Linked DNA regions of Homo sapiens: region 2 is linked to region 1. The links are contacts of gene promoters, found by promoter capture Hi-C in blood cells and fetal thymus (Javierre and others, 2016). All regions are on one chromosome and are shown on one strand. Each heading gives the region's core, a stretch centred on a gene start or on the middle of the fragment in contact. The rest is flanking DNA. Distances are from core to core; before and after follow the strand shown. Region 1 holds the start of GAN (gigaxonin). Region 2 overlaps NUDT7 (nudix hydrolase 7).

Region 1 (5,571 bases), core at 2,828-5,327:
CAGCCTGTCAACTACTTTTAGGTTTAGTTTCCCCAACAAACCAAAGAGAAAATCTCACCCAGGAACCAAAAGGAGGAAAAGCTTTGGGAAAGGAGCATGCTGGGAAAGGGGCATGCATGCCATTTACTGAGCTGAGGGACCGCAGGAGGTCCTGCCTCCTTCCTGGAGCAGCTGCACCCTAGGGCTGCATGACACGTGCTCTCTCTACATAACCCGGGGATGCCAGTCCTCTCTGAGCTGACCATGAGGGTGTGTTGCCAAAGCTGAGTTTTCTGGCCTTTTCCTTTTATATTTAAAATCTTTCTAATATGGTAGGATTGCTAAGGGTGTCAGCAGGAAAAACAAGGGCTAGACCAAAGATAAAGCAGAATAAAAGATTAAACCAATAAGTCAAAAGACTTTTCTATATTAAGTAGAAAGTATGCCAAACAAGTTACTTTAATTCCCAGTGTGACAGAGTTGGACTGGCTTCCTTTGTTGGGCACATAGTAAGCAAAAGACAATACTGCTCCTATTTTTTATATACATGATTTATTATTGTACAGACTGGGTCTCACTATGTTGCCCAGGCTAGTCTCGAACTCCTGACCTCAAACGATCCTCCCGCCTCCACCTCTCACAGTGCTAGGATTACAGGTGTGAGCTACCATGCCAGGCCATACCACTGCTTCTAAACCACACAATCACACAACCACTTATGACAGTTACCAACACTAGGCCAAACACAGACATTAAACAAAATCAGAATTTTATAAAACTTCAGAGATTACCAAACTTTTGAACATTCAATTCACAGATTAATGATATCACAGATCTAAATGCTTAAGTTTCAAAAGGGAAAGATAAGAAACATCAAGTTCTAGAATACATAAATATATTTTGTTTCAATATAATTCTCTAAAGTGCTATTCAAACAAACAAGTACATTATAAAAGCCCAATATTATTGGTATTAAAATTACCAGTAAAAATACAAAATTAACAAATTTCTTTCTAGTTAGTGATACAGATTCGTCAAATTACTTTGAAACAGCTTCGGAATTGATAATTTTTAAAAACATCCCAAGACATTCTATCACTTCAATAGCCAAATAAACTTAAAGCAATTCATCTGTCACTGATGAAACACATATTGACTGATTCATGTTTATCCACAAAACATAAAAAAAAAAAATCTGCCTTCTCTTTAAAGATGATTGAAAATGGAAACCAAAATGACACAGTATGTAAAAGTGCTTGATAAACATTTTAATTCTAAGATATTGTAAGCCAGCTAACAGTAAAGTTTACACAAAGAGAACGGTGAAATACAAGTAATGCTCTAACGTGGTAGGGCAAGAGTAGGAAGGCGGTTAGCCGTAATTAATTTGGAGTCTAATCCTAGTTCAACCATTAAGTACTAATAACCTCATAACACAAGTCACTAATGTCCACTGAGCCCCTATTTTCTTATTTAGAAAGTGAAAGAACCGGACTACAGATATTTCCTAATTCAATGGGTACTACCTTTGAAGACATGGGAACAGACCTATGAGGTGTCAACACTATTACGTATTTCTTCACAGGTGTGATTAAATGAGAAGACTCATTTTTATCCCTCATTCATCAGATTAGTGAGCTGAAGCCTTGTCATCTACCAGCAACTCACAGCTAATATGAGTAAAAGCTGGAAGCACAAAGCGGGTCTTCAAACTCTGAATCCAGTGCGTTTCTCAATTAGGTATAACTGAGCGTCTGTGTACTATGAAAATGTGATGGTGCCAATTTTCTAATGTACACATTTGCTGTGGTAGAAAGAAAGGCAGTCATTCATTCAATACATTAACTGATAGGCACAGTTCTTTCTGGGTGCAAAGAGTAAAGCAGTGAATAAAAGAAAACACCGCCGGGTGCCACGGCTCACGCCTGTAATCCCAGCACTTTGGGAGGCCGAGGTGGGCGGATCACGAGGTGAGGAGTTCGAGACCAGCCTGGCCAACATGGTAAAACCCCGACTCTACTAAAAATACAAAAATTATCCGGGCGTGGTGGCGGGCGTTTGTAATCCCAGCTACTCGGGAGGCTGAGGCAGGAGAATCGCTTGAAACTGGAAGGCGGAGGTTGCAGTGGGCCGAGATCACGCCACTGCACTCTAGCCTGGGCTAAAGAGTGAAACTCAGTCTCGAAAAACAAAACAAAACACCACGACCTCATTGAGGTCACACTGTGGTTGGGAAAGACCACCAAAGTAAATGTGTAAAATATGGGGTACGTCAAAGTGGTAAGTGCTATGGAGAAAAACGAACAAGGATAACAAGCAAGGATTCGGCAATTTGCAATTTACTTCTTTTAAGCCAAACGGATGCCATTTAAAGAACTATAACAATAATGCATCTAAAGTAGTTTTCTTCAGCATTTTCCCAAACAGGGAAGACTTTGGTCTGCTGACTCCAATTTGGGATGGGTTGCTCAAACCTCGGAACTGCCAGCTAGAAGCTGTCTGTCACATTAGCAATCCAAATTCTGTACTAACGATGCTACCCCAGACCCTACTGCCGCCCCGCCCCCCCACCCCTCCACACTCCCCACCGCCAAAGAGCGCAAATGGATTCACAAAACAAATCCAAGAGAAACCAGAAGTTACAAGGGCACTTGAATTTCTTCTAAGTTTAGCACAGATATCTCCCCAATGCAAAGGTTAAAAGTGTAGCGTGCGTGGTGGTTTTGCTGGGACAAAGCGCTAAGAATACACATCATTTTGCTTTTTCTGACCTGTCAATTGTAGTGATATTCTCTACCACTAGCTTATATTTAACCAGCTTACTGGTCAGTTTCTCCAGTTTTTAGCATTCCCCCCTTTCCTTTTATTAAAACAGCAACCTAGTTTGCAAGAAGGTTGCTAAAAGAAAAGATAGTCTCCTGCAAGATCTGATACACTTGTATAAGCACTGTCTTATCAACCTTTTAATTAACCTGGTTAGTTGAGTTGGCAAATCAGGTTAAGCTTTGCTTTACTAAAGTATTAAAATGCCCTTTGTCGCAAGGCTCTCACGGTCCTCGGGTTGTAACAGCATCCTGAGAATTCGCTACAGTTTACTTCAACGTGTAACTCCTCTTTTAAACAGTTACCAGAATGGAGCGGAAAAGACACGTTTGGCAAGGAGAATTTCGCCCGGAGGTTCGGACTACCAACCCAAGGAGAACATCGAGAGGGTTTTCTCTGCCTGCACCCAGCGAGGCGCTGTCTGTCTGGCCTCCCAGCGGGCAGGGCGCTCCCCGCCTGGTTGGCGGCGCCGGCCCAGCCCCCGCGCGTGGATTCAGAGGCGAGCGACTGGCGAACTTCAGCGGGGACCGCGGGCCCGGCCTGGGCGAGGGGGTGACTCTTCCCCGGCGCGGCCTCGCCCAGCCCGCAGGTGCGGGTCCCGGCCGGCCCAGGACGGCGTCTGGGGGCCTCAGGGTCTCCGAGGTCGGGCGCTCGCCGCGGCGGTGGGAACCGGGAGGGACAAGGCGGGGGATCGCGGCCCGGGTCCGGGGACAACTCCAAGGGGCGCGGGGGTCCAGTGGGGAGCGCGGGCCTGGAAGCCACAGAGGCCGCCTGGGGGACGCGGTCAGCGGGGCCGGGTTCCGGCGCTTGCCGGGAGGGACGCCGCGCCAACGGTGACGCGGGGACCCCGGCGCCGGGGACAGGGGACAGGGTCTGGGGGCCACGCCCGGCCCGGCCGCCCCGCCTCCGGCTCCGGGCAGCACCGCCGCGCCCGCCCGCCGTAGCCCCCTCCCCACCTGATGTACGGGCTGGCCGCCGCCAGGATGTTCTTCTGCACCGGGATCTCCTCCCCGTCGAGGACCAGGTGCGCGTCGCAGAAGCGAGACTCCTCGCGGAAAGAGCTGAGCGCTCGCAGCAGACGCGCGGCGTGCTGAGGGTCAGACACGGCACTGCCCTCAGCCATCGCGGCGCCCGCTCCTCTGCCGACGGGTCCGGCTCCCGACACCGTCCGGCCGGACCCCTCGAGCGGCCCGAGTCCTGCGCGCGCGCCCGCCCGGCCCGGCTCTCCGCGCTCTGAGCAGAAGCTGGAGCCCCCGGGACGTGCCTGTGCTATCCGCGGCGCGCTGGGCCGGCGCCTTTAAGAAGCCGCGTCATGAAGTCATTTCTCCGCGACGCCCCCGCACCGTCGCTCCCCGCCTTCTCGCCTCCGCTGCTGGAGATGGCCAATCAGAAGCCTCCTTCCTCCGCCCGCCTGACCAGCTGCGGCTGGGTGCAGCGGAAGGTGTCTACGGATGAGATAGGTCGCTCCCGCGATGGAGGGATGTGCGGGCGGGCTAGGATTCCGTGGTTAAGCCTGTGGCCTCTGGAGCCGCGAGTTTGAATCCTGGTTGCAGCTGTTCCACTTACTAGCTCTGTGGCCATGGGTAAGGTGCCCATCCTCAGTTTCTCCGTCTGCAAAATGAAAGCGAATTCTTAGTGTTGTTGTGGACTCATGAGATGATGCATGGAAGCAAGGGCGAAGTCGCTGTAGCTTTCTTTATTTATGAGAGAAAAGGAGCTGCCCAGGTGAGAGGACAAAAACCCGAGAAAACAGACCCGGAAAAGATGGTTTTGGTTGCGGGCTAGGAAGGAGATGTAGCAGATGAAGCTGGAGAAGTCCGAAGGAGGCCTTAAATTTTGCAGGGCCTCCTTGGTGTGGGAAGGAGTTTGGTTTCTGCAGTGGTGAAGAACCATGGAAGTACCGTATTTAGCAGGGGATTTTGTGCAGGTCACTCAGCTCCTGCGTGGAGAATAAGGCGGGGATGGATGTGCTAAAGGCAGATCGATGCTTAGGTATTGCAGGACTAGAGAGAAGGGAATGGGCACCTGGATGAAAGGGTGATGCGGGGGCGGGGGTAGACAATAGTGGATTGTTTTAAAAGAAATTGTGAGGGAGAGGGAGTTAAGGATAAATATTCTGTTTGAGTAACTGCATGCATGTTTGCACCTTTCAGGGAGAGCTAGGAAATGCTGAAGGGGTGGGCAGTAGAGAGGCAGATGTTTAGATTCAGACAGGCTCCCAACCCAGTGAAGATCAAAGCTGTGATAGAAAGGATCGCTGGGTCAGCTCAGCTGGCAGGCCAAGCCCCACGGTATCTGAAGTTTCCCTGGAGGTTGCTCAGGGCACATGGGAGTGTGGAATGTAGCAACCATTTTGTGCAAACGTTAGGGACTCCATAAGCCTCTAAAAAATTAGCAATTGTATGAGGACTCCGGACCAGAAGAATGTGGCTAGCATTCCAGGCAAGACAGGATGGAATTTTCACTGTCCTTCAACCAACTGAAAGGCTCCAATAAAGTCTTGGGTATTTACCCTGAACCAGCCAAGGCTTTGGAGTCACTGGCAGGAATCCGAGTATCTAACTGTTTTCAGGGCAGAATAGATGGGGAGGGTACGGCTGTGGAAGACACATGCATTTCCACTTTCTTCTGTAAATGCAGCTCAGTGTTCCCGGATGCAATGATAAAGATGTCTAGGATTTGCTTCAAAACAAAACAAAGGGATGGGGAAGCAGATGGGAGTGTAGATGAGTCAAAAGTGGCCGCAAGTTACTAATTGTTAAAGCCACG
Region 2 (6,052 bases), core at 3,140-5,639, 3.6 Mb after region 1:
TACAATCATTGTGGAAAACAGAATGGAGGTTTCTCAAAAAATTAAAAACAGAATTGCCATATGATCCAGCAATCCCACTACTGGTTATATATCCAAAGGAAATGAAATCAGTATATCGAAGAGGTCTCTGCACACCCATGTTTACTGCAGCATTGTTCACAATGGCCAAGACATGGAATCAACCTGAGTATCCATCAACAAGTGAATGAAGAAAATGTATATACAGAGAGGAATATTATTCAGTCATAAAAAAGAAGGAAATCCTGTCATTTGTGACAACATGGATGAACCTGGAGGAAATTATGTTAGGTAAAATAAGCCAGTCACAGATGCCACATGATCTCATTCATATGTGGAATATTAAAAAGTCAGTCTCAGAGAAGTAGAGAGTAGAATGGTGGTTACTAGCTGCTGAGGTGGTTTGGGGGGAGGTTGGGGAGATGTTGGTCAAAAGATAAAAAGTTTCAGCCAGTCAGGAGGAATAAATTCGAGAGATGTATTGTATACTATGGTAACTATAGTTAACATACTGTATTCTTGAAAATTGCTGAATGGATATAAAGTGTTCTTAGTGCAAAGATGATGACTATGTGAGATAGTATGTTATGTGTGGTGACATGTTACCATATGAGGTATGTGTGTTAATATGTTACTATGTGAGGTAATGTGTGTGGTGATATGTTACCATATGAGGTAGTATATGTGTTAATATGTTACTATGTGAGGTAATGTGTGTGGTAATATGTTACTATGTGAGTTAGTACATTGATTAGCTAGATTTAGTCATTCCATAGTGAATATATACTTCAAAACATCATGTTGTACAGGATAAATCTATACAATTTTATCTGTTGATTTAAAATTTATTTATTTATTTATTTATTGAGATAGAGTCTCGCTCTGTTGCCCAGGCTGGAGTGCAGTGGGATAATCTCGGTTCACTGCAACCTCTGCCTTCTAGGTTCAAGCGATTCTCCTGCCTCAGCCTCGCGAGTAGCTGGAACTACAGGTGTGCACCACCACACCCAGCTAATTTTGCATTTTTAGTAGAGATGGGGTTTCACCATGTTGGCCAGGCTGGTCTCAAACTCCTGACCTCAGGTGATCCCCACACCTTGGCCTCTCAAAATGCTGGGATTACAGGTGTGAGCCATGCCTGGCCTAAATTTTTTTTTAAAGAAAATATGCTATTTTGAAGAAAATATGTATGATGACATGTTACTATATGATGTATATGGTGATATGTTACTATGTGAGGTAATATGTATAGTAATATGTTACTATGTGAGGTATTGTGTGTGGTGATATGTTACTATGTGAAGTAGTATGTTACTATGATGTGAGGTAGTAAATTAATTAGCTAGATTTAGTCATTCCACAGTGAATATATACTTCAAAGCATCATATTGTACAGGATAAATCTCTACAAGTTAAATCTATTTAAATCTAAAAAGATAAATCTATTTAATTTTGTTTTTAAAAAAGAAAATATTACGCTGTTTTGAAGAAAACAGGCACATTTCTAAAACTGACTAATCAAAAACTATTAGCACTGCAAAGGGCTCTAAGCACAAAAGCGGTCAGTTATTTTTTTGATAAATAGTATACATTTCTTATTCAATAAAACCTTCTGAAATGCTACTCAGAGGCCAAGTAAAGCTGCAGCCTAATTTCCTAAGACTTCAATCTTTGCTTTGTTCCTGAATTTTCTCTTGCCTACTTCCAGTCCCAGAGAATGGGGTGCAGGGAGGAGGGTGGAGGAGGGTAGAAGAGGGGACAGAGGAGGGATGCGAGGTCAAGGGTGTGGGGGAGAAGAGCAGGACCGATAATGCAGAGCAGCTAATTCCTGAAAACTATAAAGTGGGTGGCTTTGAAGGCCTGAAGGGCTGTGCCCAGGTGTGCAATGGAGAAAGGGGTTTGCCAGCTCTTTGCTGGGCACCAGGGATCTAGGGTTCTGAGAGGAGTCCCTTATCCAAGGTGGACCCGGACAAGGAGATAACGAAAACATAGGTAGCATCCAACAGCATGCAGCACTATGGCATGCCAGCAGCCGTGCTGGGCGTTTTACAGATCTCTTTCAGGCTCAGAACAACCTTGCACATGAGGCGCTGTTTTCAGGCCCATTTTAGGGATGAGAAAACCGAGGTGATTAAGAGATTTACGAACTTTGCAGGCTGGGCGTGGTGGCACACGCTTGTCATCTCAGCACTTTGGGAGGCCAAGATGGGCAGATCACCTGAGATCAGGAGGTCAAGATCAGCCTGGCCAACCAACATGGTGAAACTCCCTCTCTACTAAAAATACAAAAATTAGCCAGGCGTGGTGGCGTGCACCTGTAATCCCAGCTAATTGGGAGGCTGAGGTGGGAGAATTGCTTGAACCCAAGAGGCGGAGGTTGCAGTGAGCTGAGATCACGCCACTGCACTCCAGCCTGGGCGACAGAGCGAGAATCCTTCTGAAAAAAAAGAAAAACTTGTTCGAGGTTCCAGAGCTAGTGGGAGATTGCACATTTGAGAAGGGTTAACCCACTTCTTGCCTTGCTTTCCCCATCCACTGGGGGGAAATCTCCTACCAGCGCCCTGCTTGTGTGAGGGGCAGAGCTCCAGTAGAGCTCCAGAGGGAATTTCTCACCCCTACAGCCAGATAGTGTTTACAATCAGATTGAATTAAATTTAAATAGTTTTTAAAAAGTGACCTTAATAATCAACAGGCAAAAGTGGCTCTGGGTGAAACAAAAGAAACTAGAGACCCCGTTGGTTGAGTTTGTAGTATTGTCTAGATTTCCTATATTATTGTTTGTTAGACAATTCTCTTTTATTTATTTATTTATTTTTATTTATTTATTCATTATTGAGATGGAGTCTTGCTCTGTTGCCCAGGCTGGAGTGCAGTGGCACGATCTCGGCTCAATGCAACCTCCACCTCCCAGGTTCAAGTGATTCTCCCTGCCTCAGCCTCCCCAGTAGCTGGGATTACAGGCACCCACCACCACGCCTGGCTAATTTTTTGTATTTTTAGTAGAGACAGGGTTTCGCCATGTTGGCCAGACTGGTCTCGAACTCCTGACCTCAGGTGATCCGCCCACCTCAGCCTCCCAAAGTGCTGGGATTACAGGCGTGAGCCACCGCACACGGCCATATCTGATAATTTTAAAAAATATATGTAAGTGCTTCTCCTGTGCTTATTGGCAGAGGTGGGAACAGACACTGGTCCCCTGGTTTCCATTTAAGTATTTCCCCCTGGAACCTGGATTTCTATCATGTCCTGAGTTCACGGCATTTCTGCCTGGCTCAGACCGAACACAATCCACACAAGTCTACTTCCACGTCCACAAAACTCCAGCTGATTCCTTGGCATTTTTTTTTTAAACAAAATACTTTTCATTATTCTGCTTAAAAAGCCTGTTAATATGGCTTATTTTCTTTTTGTACTTGGATAAGCTTAAAATGACTGCTTCACCAGCTTTTCCTTGGAAGTTCCCCACAGCAAGGGAAACTGACTGTGCTCACGGGTGTGGGGGTGGTAGAGTTTCGATATTTGTCCTTGCCCAAATCTCATGTTGAACTGGAGTCCCCAGTGTTGGAGGTGGGGTCTGGTTGGAGGTGACTGGATCACAGGGGCAGATTTCTCACGCATGGTTTAGCACCATCATCTTGGCACTGTCCCCATGATAGTGAGTGAGTTCTCATGAGATCCGGGGCCATTTAAAAGTGTGTGGTATTTCCCTGCTCTCTCTCTTGCTCCTGCTCCCCCTCTGCCATGATGGTACACTCCCTGAGGCCTTTCCAGAAACTGAGCAGATGCCTGTGTCATGCTTCCTGTACAGCCTGCAGAACCATGACTCAATGAAACCTCTTTTCTTTATAAATTACCCAGACTCAGATATTTCTTTTTCTTTCTTTCTTTCTTTTTTTGAGATGGAGTCTCGCTGTTCCTCAGGCTGGAGCGCAGTGGCACAATCTCGGCTCACTGCAACCTCCGCCTCCTGGTTTCAAGTGTTTCTCCTGCCTCAGCCTCCTGAGTAGCTGGGATTACAGGTGTGTGCCACCATGCCTGGCTAATTCTTTTGTATTTTTAGTAGAGATGGGGTTTCACTATGTTGGTCAGGCTTGTCTCGAACTGCTGACCTCGTGATCCTCCCACCTTGGCCTCTCAAAGTGCTGGGATTACATGCTTGAGCCACCATACCCAGCCTCAGGTATTTCGTTATAGCAATGCAAGAATGGACCAATACAAGGGGTGAGCCAGAAACTCCATTCCCAGCCCATTATTTCTGTAAAGTGACATCATTTATCTTAAAACTTCAGGTCATGTCTGACAGGTCACTTGACACTAACGATGACAGCTAAAACTTACTGAATTCTTCCTTGCCAAGTACCTGGGTTATATAGGTGCTTTACATTTGTTACCCTGTGAAATGTTCATAGCAGCTGTATGAAGCAGTTACTAATATTTTGTCCTCATTTTACAAGTGAAAAGACTGAAGTACAGAGAGGGCAAGTAACGAGGCCAAAGTCACAGCTGGCAAGGAGAGAGCCTGGATTCAACGTGGACAGCTAGCTTTAGAGCCTAGGCCGTTAACTTCTATGCTCTAGTATTTTCACATTATACTGGGGGTGGGATAGTCTAAAACAGTGGCCCTTGGTGGGGGGCAATTTGGCACCCCCAATCCTGCCAGGATAGTAGGCAATTCTGAAGACATTTGTGGTGTGTGTGCTACTGGCATACTGGACAAAGGGACAAAGGTGTGTGTGAGCTTGTGTTTGTGTGTGCTACTGGCATCTGGTGGGTAGAGGCCAAGGATGATGGTAAACACACCACATTATACAGGACAGCCTCCACACCAAAGAATTATTCAGCCCCAAATGCCAATAGCACCAAGGTTAGGTAACCCTAGTGTGAAAGCGTTTTAAACTGCTTGCTAGCTAAATTCCTTCATTTTCTTGTTAAACCTTCTCCAAGAAACACCATGTTATCCTGTGGCTTGTGGTTGTATGCCTCTGACATCACAATTTTGAAAGCCCTTTTGAGAATTTTGGCATCAAAGTGTGTGCAAGTGACAAAATCTCGTGAGGTCTTCTGATGTCCTGAGGTTTAAGGGCAGGAAATTTTTTGTCCACCTACCTTCTCTGACCGGACGGTGAACAACAAATGGAGTTTTCCTTCTTTAGCCACCAATGGCAAAAGGACGGAGTATTTGTTATATGGCAAGTGAGAATATTTGCCTCCAATATCATACTTTCTTAAGCGGGCCTTAGCATCATCTAGCAAACTGTTTCTAAAATAAAAACAAACCAGACAGACATTTTAGCAAGCAGAGTTATGGTAAAAAGCTTATAGTCCTGCCTCTGTTTCTGCTTTGTTGTGTATTTAGGAGTTTGCCATTTCTGACTCTCTGTGTATTTTTCAATAACACGACAGAAATGATACTATCTAAATTGCGTGGTTGTTCGCAAGATGAAAATGACAAAAAAACCTTCTAAGCACACAGTTTAGTACACAGGTTCTCTTTGAAACATAAAGTATGGTAAAATGTTTTTTCAATAATGCAACAGTTGAATTTTGAAACCCATAATTATATTCAGAGAAGACAGGTTTGATGAAAAAGTCATTGTTAAGGTTAGAAGGTTAGAAGACTACCTTCTGTTAAGCTGGCCCTTATGTTCTCAAACTCTTATGTCTTCAACTGCTTATAATAGTGGTTCCCAAGCTTTAGCAGCAACAGAATCACCTGGAGCGCTGGCTGTCACATAGACTGCGAGGTTCAGTCCCAGACTGTGACTCAGTAACTCTGGTGTAGGGCCTGAGAATTAGCATTTGTATCAAACTCCCTCATGACAGCGTTACTGACGCTGTGGACAGGGGAACACATTCTGAGAACAATTTCCCAATAATATGCAAGCATTTGGATTTAAAACCGCAAATGGTGCCCTTCCTATGTGGACTTGTTTTGGTCCTTTTGACAGGTGTGTTCTACTGCTAGTTTGTATAGTGGGTTGAACAGTATCCCCTCACCCCTGAAATTCATGTCTACCCCAAACTTCAGAGTGTG

What was found. The method cuts DNA at HindIII sites, captures the fragments that hold promoters and counts their contacts. A CHiCAGO score of 5 or more calls a contact.
Region 2: a contact is called between a fragment that was not itself captured here and the fragment with the promoter of GAN in region 1, in 1 of 17 cell types (activated CD4 T cells). The highest score is 6.1, in activated CD4 T cells.

The regions. Positions count from the first base shown.
Region 1 is chr16:81,313,468-81,319,038 of GRCh38, reverse strand. It overlaps GAN (gigaxonin), which reads right to left and starts at 4,077. Exons shown (of 11, transcript NM_022041.4): 1 at 3,759-4,077. The coding sequence starts at 3,925. RefSeq lists silencers at 3,201-3,470, 3,491-3,550, 3,691-4,030 and an enhancer at 4,041-4,240. The HindIII fragment of the contact is 5,241 bases long and covers 2,985-5,571 here.
Region 2 is chr16:77,724,657-77,730,708 of GRCh38, reverse strand. NUDT7 (nudix hydrolase 7) reads right to left here. Exons shown (of 4, transcript NM_001105663.3): 2 at 5,125-5,278. Among named protein-coding and RNA genes, the nearest start is that of NUDT7, 5.2 kb to the right of the region's middle. The HindIII fragment of the contact is 1,893 bases long and covers 3,443-5,335 here.